Regions from separate parts of the Homo sapiens genome. Here regions 1 and 2 are each linked to region 3. The links are contacts of gene promoters, found by promoter capture Hi-C in blood cells and fetal thymus (Javierre and others, 2016). All regions are on one chromosome and are shown on one strand. Each heading gives the region's core, a stretch centred on a gene start or on the middle of the fragment in contact. The rest is flanking DNA. Distances are from core to core; before and after follow the strand shown. Region 1 overlaps PPP1R15B (protein phosphatase 1 regulatory subunit 15B). Region 2 has its middle 21 kb from the start of LINC00628. Region 3 holds the start of GOLT1A (golgi transport 1A).

Region 1 (2,811 bases), core at 95-2,594, 190 kb after region 3:
AATTTCTAGGCTTTTAAGTTTAAAAAATAAATGATTATGATGTAATTATTACTTTCCAGAGTGTTTTGCAATAACTTCAACCTGTTAAGAGATACAAAGAACTATATTAAACTGGGAACTACAATAACGTACACAGAACCCTCTTCAAAGAAATTAAATATATTAGATGTTAAAATGTGGTAGAAAGATGCAGCTTTCCCAAAGTAGTAAAGTACTGCACATATGGGTTTTGTGGCAGTCCTTGGAAATATCCTAGGTAGAACTTAATGTAGAAATAAAAAGGCTACCACATATTTTCAATCCAAGTCATTTTTACAAGAAAAAAAAAAGTGACACAAAATAATGCACTTTAAGTTGGTAGCATACACAAGGTTATTTTTTAGCCTAACATAGACAGGCCAAATCATTGAAATAAAAAAAATATAGAAAAACATAAAAGCCCATTAACTTCTGAATTTTGGGAAAGAAACAAGAAAGAGCCCAAAGTTTTCAGATAGGCACACATAATTTAGATTAGAAATGAAAATGGGCTTTAAGCCCTATAAATATTGTTTTCCAAGAAAATAAGTTTTGAAAGTGCAAAATGACAACTCAAAAAGGTCCCCTTTCCACCTCATGCAGGCAAAGGACATTTAAAAGCACATCCAACTAAATCAAAAAAGGGAGGATTAGAAATCACACTAGTTCATCCTTCATTATCAGGGCTGGCTTCAAACCTGAATGTTTCTGAGTGGGATATGTTGCAAAAAAAAAAATTAAACTAGATCCAAGTTACATTTCCTCTAAAAAAAAAAATGTCAAAGGACAGCTGCCAAGATTTGTTTTTAAAAGACACCTCTCAGGTAAGAGGTAGTGTATGCTAGCTAGGACTACAGGCTGCCAACTCAACATTGCTTGAGAACATTAAGTCCTTTGAAGCATGTTCCCTGGAGTCTATTAAACATTCTTTCTCTGTGTTCAAATGTCAAGCAATATCCAATAGCATCTTCTGTTTCTTGAATTCGTTTCTGGAACCTGCATCCATCCCTTGCAAATTCTTCCCATGGTCCTTTGCGATCCTCATCACCACTTATATAATACTCAGTAACTTCTTCAAGGAAGGTTACCTACAAAAACAAAGACTAATTTTAATAACTGTCTAGGATCTTACAATCAGCATTGAGGTCAATAACCCTTTATGCTACCAATTCTTTCAGAATATTCCCAACTAAGAATAACATATTATTATTAGGAATATTTGGTCCCAGCTATATTTGAAGTTAAAAAAAAAGTTCTGTCACGCCTGTAATCCCAGCATTTTGGGAGGCGGAAGCAGGCGGATCACCTGAGGTCAGGAGTTCAAGACCAGCCTGACCAACACAGTGAAACCCTGTCTCTAGTAAAAATACGAAAAAATTAGCCAGGCGTGGTGGCACATGCCTGTAATCCCAGCTACGCAGGAGGCTGAGGTAGGAGAACAGTTTGAACCTGGGAGGTGGAGGTTGCAGTGAGCCAATATCGCGCCACTACACTCTAGCCTGTGCAACAAGAGCAAAACTCTGTCTCAAAAAAAAAAAAGTTCAGATTAGATGGCATTTGGATAAAATAGTGAACAAATGTCACCTAAATATTTCATATAGAGATATATATCTTTCATCTATATATACTTCATTTATCTATATCTGCATAATATACACACACAGTCGTCTGCCCCCCCCAATCCCCCACCAGCCCTTGGCTTTTGGTGTTAATAAAATGAATCCAGATAGGGAATTGAATTTTTCATGCTGTTATTAACCCCTGCTATTTTTTAATCCTTAGGGAAATACAGTTCTGTGATATTTTTCCCTCAAAATGACAAGCAAAATATTTCTGAAAATAACCACTATATCCCTGGAAGTCACTGTTTTTATCACTGCATAAAGGCTTTAACAATATTTTTGCTTACTTCTATTCTTTTTCCTTTTAAAAATTTTTTTCACTTTCCAACTTTTAAATCAACATGTTGTACTATTTTTGTATCATTACTTTGGCAATAACAATACAGAAGAGAAAAAGTTACTTAGTAAACAAAGTATAGCAAAATTAGTATTTTTAAAGCTGTGTTACTCTAAGAAACTTTGTAGTTAAGATTTTAAAAACCTTTGTATTCAATATGCTATCACTATATATGAAATTGTGATTCTAATATACATAATGACATGTAATGAGTGACAATCCCTACTCATTACTAATCACTACTTAATTTCTAATGAAGTTTCTTTCTAAGATATCAAACTCCAAAAGTAAATACTTGCTTTCAAGTATGTTTAATAGTTACATCAGCTAACCCCAATGTGGCCTACTACTTTCGTTCCCTTTACATCAAGCCAAGGGATGCCCCTGAGGACAATTAGCAGGTATGTAACACCTTACTAGTTATTGCATTCTAGTCTTGAATACTACTCATTCATTGTGTCATTAAGATAAATAATAAAAACGTACAGTGTTTACCATATACCAGGCTTTTTTTAAAGAGCTTTACATTTTTATCTCATCTAATCCTCACATTAACCCTATGAGGTATGGACTATTATCATCCCCATTATACCGATAAGAAAACAGAGGTAGAAGGGTTTTTTAGACTCACTGTCCATCATCCTATATACTCCATATATTCCATACACCATTCCCCATATATACCAATGGCAGGTAGTCAAAGGCTGTCAAATAATTATATCATATTCAGACATAATCATTTATAAATTCTGCTTCTAGTTCATAGTCAATAGTATCATCTACTCCACTCATTTCATTTTACTCAACGAGCAAGCTAAAACAAGACATGAGACT
Region 2 (2,700 bases), core at 111-2,610, 180 kb after region 3:
CCAAAAGATCCAGGAAGGGCCCTTTAATCTTCAGCTCCATATGCACCTGGCTTTAGCCTCTGTCATTCCTTGAAGGATTGGCTGCTTCTTTTTTTTTTTTTTTTTTTTTTTTTTTTTTGAGACAGAATCTGGCTGTTGCCCAGGCTGGAGCTGGAGTGCAGTGGTGCAATTTCGGCTCACTGCAACCCCTGCCTCCCAGGTTCAAGCGATTCTCCTGCCTCGGCCTCCTGAGTAGCTGGGATTACAGGCACACACCACCACACCCAGCTAGTTTTTGTATTTTTAGCAGAGATGGAGTTTCACCATATTGGTCAGGCTGGTCTTGAACTCCTGATCTCCTGATTCGCCCGCCTCGGCCTCCCAAAATGCTGGGATTACAGGCGTGAGCCACCACGCCCGGCCAGGATTGGCTGCTTCTTGGCCAACCTAGGACTTGGGGAAAAAGGATAGATAAGAGAGGTTGAGGGGTTTTGTGGGAGCAAACTTTCGATCCAGTCTACTCACAGGACCTCCCAAAAACTCCATGCCATTTTCATCTCTGAAATTGCTTTGAACATGCCTCTGGTCTGTGAATCCCACCTGTCTTTACCTAAGCCCTTCTCTTCTTTTCCTCCTCCCTTAGGACTGTCCTACAAAATTTCCCTTAGGTGGTCTATCTCACTGCTTCCCACAAATGAGAAAGGGGAATAAGGTGTTACAAATGGCCAATTATTCATGTGAAACAGAACTCTTACATCTCCCTCCACCAAGCTGCTCCCCTTTCAGAATTTCCTATCTCAATGAAAACATCACCTTCCTCCTTGTCACCAAGCCTAGTAAAGCTGACTCCTTTGTGATTTCTCCTTCTCCTTCATCTAACAAGCCACTGAATCCTGCCAACTATTACACCTCCATGGCTCCCCCTTTCCACTCTAACCATCCCTTTGGTTGAGCTCATTACCTCAGGCCTATATTTGAACAAGAGCATCCTACTTGATCTATTATAATTGCTCCTCAGTTCAATCCATCCACAAATGATCCAAGAGCTATTCCAAAAGAACCCATCTGACCATGTCACTCCCATAATGGTTTGTCACTTTATGTAGAATAAAACAGACCAACTTTGTTAGCATGGCATTCAAAGTACTCTATCATTTAGACCCTACATAACGAACTTTATCCCCCACTATTCTTCTCTATCCCCCAGGACCTCCACCCAAACTTATCAGCCTATTAGCCATTTCCCCAGCATGTTTCCCATATCCTTCCATTTCTACCTTTTCTCCAAAGCTATTTTTCCTACTTGAAATATCCTTTGCCTTGCTACCCTTTAACTGCCCCATTCCCTCAACATCCACCCAGTCAAGAGTACTCATTTGTTAGAGTCCAACCCTATCTAATCCAAAAAGAAGGAATTAACATTTACCTAGAAAAGGAGTGAAGCATTGTAGTTAGAGGCATGGGATCTGGAGCCAGACTGGGTTTCACTCCTAGTTCTCTGCCATTCCCTAGTTACGTAACTCGGGTGGGTTACTATGCTTCAGGTCCCTCATCTGTAAATCGGGATATATATCATAATATATACTATGTGAGTATTTGATATTATGAGACAAATATGGTGTAAGAACTTGTCATATATTACCTACTTTAATCCTCCCAACTACTTTGAGAGATATTATTATTCAAATTTTACAGATGGCCTCTTAAGACTCAAATAATTTACTTATGGGCACACAGCTGGTGGAAATGGAAAGCTGGAATTCAACCTCAAATCTGTCTGGACCAATGCCCAGGTTCTCTTTACAGCACTGGAAAGAGCACTAGGAAAGAAGCAGAGAGGTCTAATCTCTCAAACTTACTCTCAGGTGGAGACCGTAAAAGAGAATGTGTGTGCTGGTAAGGAGCATAGAGAAACACAGGAGCATGAGGAAGTAATATTAGGCTCAGAGTCAAAGGCAGTTGACAGGCCAATATGTAACCCGACAAGGGAAAAAAAATGACAGGAAACATGGGTGTGAGCCCAAGAGCAATATCAGACTTTGTTACTGAGAAAAGGTAACAAAACAGTTAACTTGAGAAGACAGGTGTTACATCTAACATCTTAACTTTAAGGAGCCTAGCACAAAATCAGGGACTTGAAGAGTTTAAAGAAGTCACTTGGCCAGGTGCTCTGGCTCACACCTATAATCCTAGCACTTTGGGAGGGACACGAGGCAGGAGGACGGCTTGAGCCCAGGAGTTCAAGGTTGTAGTAAGCCATGATGGTGCTAATGCCCTCCAGCCTGGGTGACAGAGGGAGACCCTGTCTTAAAAAAAGTCACTCCATTATCTCACCCAGTTCTTAAAGTACTGAAAGAAAAACCATCAACCTAGAATTCTAAAGCTAATAAAAATATTTTTCTAAAGTGAGGGAAGAAGTAAAGACTTTTTCAGACAAAATCTGAGATAAATCATCAGCAGCAAGGTTACATGACAAGAAATGTTCAAGAAGCTCTTCAGGCAGATGGAAAATAATATCTAATAGAAAACTGGATCTACACAAAGCAGCAGAAATGGTAAACAAGTGGTAAATAAAGATGTTTTCTAATTCTCAATCTCTTTAAAAGATGATGAACTCTTTAAAGCAAAAACAATAGCAACATATTGTAGGTTTATAACTTTTGTATAAGAAAAAAGGTACCACAACAGCAGCACAAGGGACAGGAGGAAGGAAATGGAAGC
Region 3 (2,834 bases), core at 125-2,624:
GCGACAGAGTGAGACTCTGTCTCAAAAAAAAAAAAAAAAAAAAAGAACTGGCTTCCCTGCTGCTGCCTTCATACCTCCACAGTCTATTCTCAACCCAGCACCCAGAATGATCTTTTAAACATAGAAATAGAACATATCACACCATAGCACAAAACCAAGGTCATTACCATGGTCTATAAGTCTCCAGTGTCCTGACCCCTCAGTGACATCCCTGACCTAAACTCCTATGATTCTCCCCTCACCTCACTTTGCTCCAGGTATACCCACCTCCTTGTTGTTCTTCAAACACACCAAGTATGCTAATGCCTCAGGGCCTTTGCACTGCCTGTCCCTGCTTCCTGAACATTTCCCCTCCAGAGAGCTGCGTGGCTTTGCTTCCTCACTTCCTATAGATCTCTGAAAAAAGATCTGAATAAAGGCTCACCTTCTCAGTGAGGCTTCCCTGACCACTCTATATAAAATAGCGACCCCTCCTACCTCGAACTCCATAGCCTCCTCTTGTTTTATTTTCATCTGGAGGACTTATCATCTTCTGATATACTATATACTTCTTTCTGTTAATTACCTGTCTCCCCTCTCTAGAATGTAAGCAGGGAGTCAGTTTCATTTAATGTTGGACACTCTATATCCAACACAGTGCTTGGCACACAGCAGAGACAAATCTGTTGAGTGAACAAAAGAATGTTGTCACCAATTCTCAGATGAAAAACCAAGGCTCAGAGGCTTTAAGTAACTCACCCAAATGAAGCCCACAGAGCCACGGTTCTTCCCATGGCCCCAGACTTGTTCCAAGACCTCCTCCCTACCTCTTCCCCCAAAAGAAGGGGAAGGATGTTTAGGAGTGAGGGTATGGTGGTTTGGTCAGGGGAGTGGAGTTTAGTTTTTTATAAGAAGCCCCCAGGGCCACAGGAGACCTTGATGGTGTGGGGAAAGATGTCTGAATGGGCAGAGGCCTCCTGAGTCCACCTTTGTGGCAACCCAGTTCTAAGAACCCGGGATGGGAAAGGGGTCAGTGTGAATGGGGAACCTGCCAGGCCCCCTGGGCACCAGCCTCTAGCTACCTGTGGGCCCTGAGCAACTCCCACCCGCTGGAGGGTAGGGAGCCACACCCCACCCTGCCTGCTGCCCCAGGGTGCCAGCACAGCATCTCCCAGCCCCTGGCTCCAGAGGTCACGCTTGTAGTGACAGAGAGCCCAGCTGGGAGAGAGAGCCAGCCGGCAGGGAGCCTGGCCTGGATAGCCCATTGCAGCCCCGCTCATCCCACTTACTCTGCCATTCGGTGATGGAGATCATGCCGCACTCAGCCTGGGGGGCTTTCCGGGTGGAAGCGGGCAAGTGGAGCGTGGCCCAGAGGACGCAGCTGGTACATGGTCACGGGAAGCTGACCCTTGGTTAAGTTGCGAAATGAGCCTGTGGCAAATCATTAACTCTCCCTCCAGCCCCCGCTCCACCCCCGCACACCACGCAGGTGCTTCTACTCGCCAGCTCCCTCCTCCCGTTTTCCGGTAGGGCAATGCCCCGCCCCTCCACCTGCCGCGCCTGCCCGGGGAAGGCACCGCCCACCTGACCCTTTCCTCGCACCTCGCGGTGTTCTGCGGCTCTCGTCTGCTCCGCGAAACTTAGATTGTATGTGGAAGCATTGGAATCTAGGGGGTGCTCAAGTTTCTTGCTTGGTTTGATAGTGTGGGAAGAGTTGGCATCTGCGCATCCCTTTGGGAATGTACTAAATTCATCTTGAAAGTCAAGCTTTTTGCTCTCTGCTATTGCACATGCTAGGCGCTGGGAGGCGATGAGCGACTGAGCACAAAGCCTGTTGTTGACCTAATGGCAGAGCCAGATCGGGTTAAATCAATGGCAAAAGCGCCATGGGGGAAGTTAGACGTGAAGGTCTTCGACCTCCTTTCCCCAAGCGGCGTCCAAGCTTTGGACTGACTGTGATGTTGAGCTATGGAAGACAAAGCCCTGAATTTGGGGTTGGGGCAGGACTGCACAATTTAGGAGGCCTGGTTCTAGTCTACCCACCAGCTGTGTAGACATGGATTCGTCCTTTGGGCCTGCAAAAAGAGAGGCAGTTAGTTCCTAACATCCTTTTTTCCCATCGCAGAGCAGTGGTTCTGACGTGGCATTGATGCCAGGAGAGCCAACATCCACTTTGCAATGTCTTCTGTGTCCAGAAATGAAGAAATGAATTTCAAAGACTACCTATATACATCATTTAAAAATGCAAATAGGCCTGGCATACAAAATGCATTATGTCTGTAATCCCAGCATTTTGGGAGGCCAAGGCAGGAGGATTGCTTGAGCCCAGGAGTTTGAGACCAGCCTGAGCAACATAGTGAGACCTTGTCTCTACAATAATAAAAATAAAAAATTAGCCGGATGTGGTGGTACCTGCCTGTAGTCCCAGCTACTGGGGAGGCTAAGGTAGGAGGATTGCTTGAGCCCAGAAGGTCGAGGCTGCGATGAGCTGTGATCAAGCCATGCACTCCAGCCTGGGTAGCAGAGCGAGATCCTGTCTCAAAAAAAAACAAACCAAACAACAACAACAAAACCAAGGAAAGCTAACATAATTTTTTAAAAAGAAACAAAAAGATAAATTATAATAAAACATGATGTCTTTCAATATATAAATGTTCAGGCAAGACTTACCAGAAGACATAAATGAAATAGGCAGATTGCTTGCACCCACACATAATATATGTTTGAATTTAAGAGAAATAGAAGATGAGCCATTCTATGCAAAAACAAAAATCACACACATGCAAGAAAATGAAAGAGTAGCAGGAAGTGAACATAGAATAAAAACTGTTAGATAAGGAATAACAGACCAGACG

Evidence for each region. Contacts are between HindIII fragments. The CHiCAGO score rates a contact against its expected background, and 5 or more counts as called.
Region 1: a contact is called between a fragment that was not itself captured here and the fragment with the promoter of GOLT1A in region 3, in 2 of 17 cell types (megakaryocytes and M2 macrophages). The highest score is 7.9, in megakaryocytes.
Region 2: a contact is called between a fragment that was not itself captured here and the fragment with the promoter of GOLT1A in region 3, in 4 of 17 cell types (M0 macrophages, megakaryocytes, M2 macrophages and 1 more). The highest score is 6.7, in M0 macrophages.

The regions. Positions count from the first base shown.
Region 1 is chr1:204,405,208-204,408,018 of GRCh38, forward strand. It overlaps PPP1R15B (protein phosphatase 1 regulatory subunit 15B), which reads right to left. Exons shown (of 2, transcript NM_032833.5): 2 at 1-1,106. The coding sequence ends at 885. Among named protein-coding and RNA genes, the nearest start is that of PPP1R15B, 5.2 kb to the right of the region's middle. The HindIII fragment of the contact is 5,303 bases long and covers 1-2,811 here.
Region 2 is chr1:204,389,095-204,391,794 of GRCh38, forward strand. No RefSeq gene overlaps it. Among named protein-coding and RNA genes, the nearest start is that of LINC00628, 21 kb to the left of the region's middle. The HindIII fragment of the contact is 8,300 bases long and covers 1-2,700 here.
Region 3 is chr1:204,212,614-204,215,447 of GRCh38, forward strand. It overlaps GOLT1A (golgi transport 1A), which reads right to left and starts at 1,375. Exons shown (of 5, transcript NM_198447.2): 1 at 1,269-1,375. The coding sequence starts at 1,293. RefSeq lists an enhancer at 1,246-1,902. The HindIII fragment of the contact is 7,307 bases long and covers 1-1,744 here.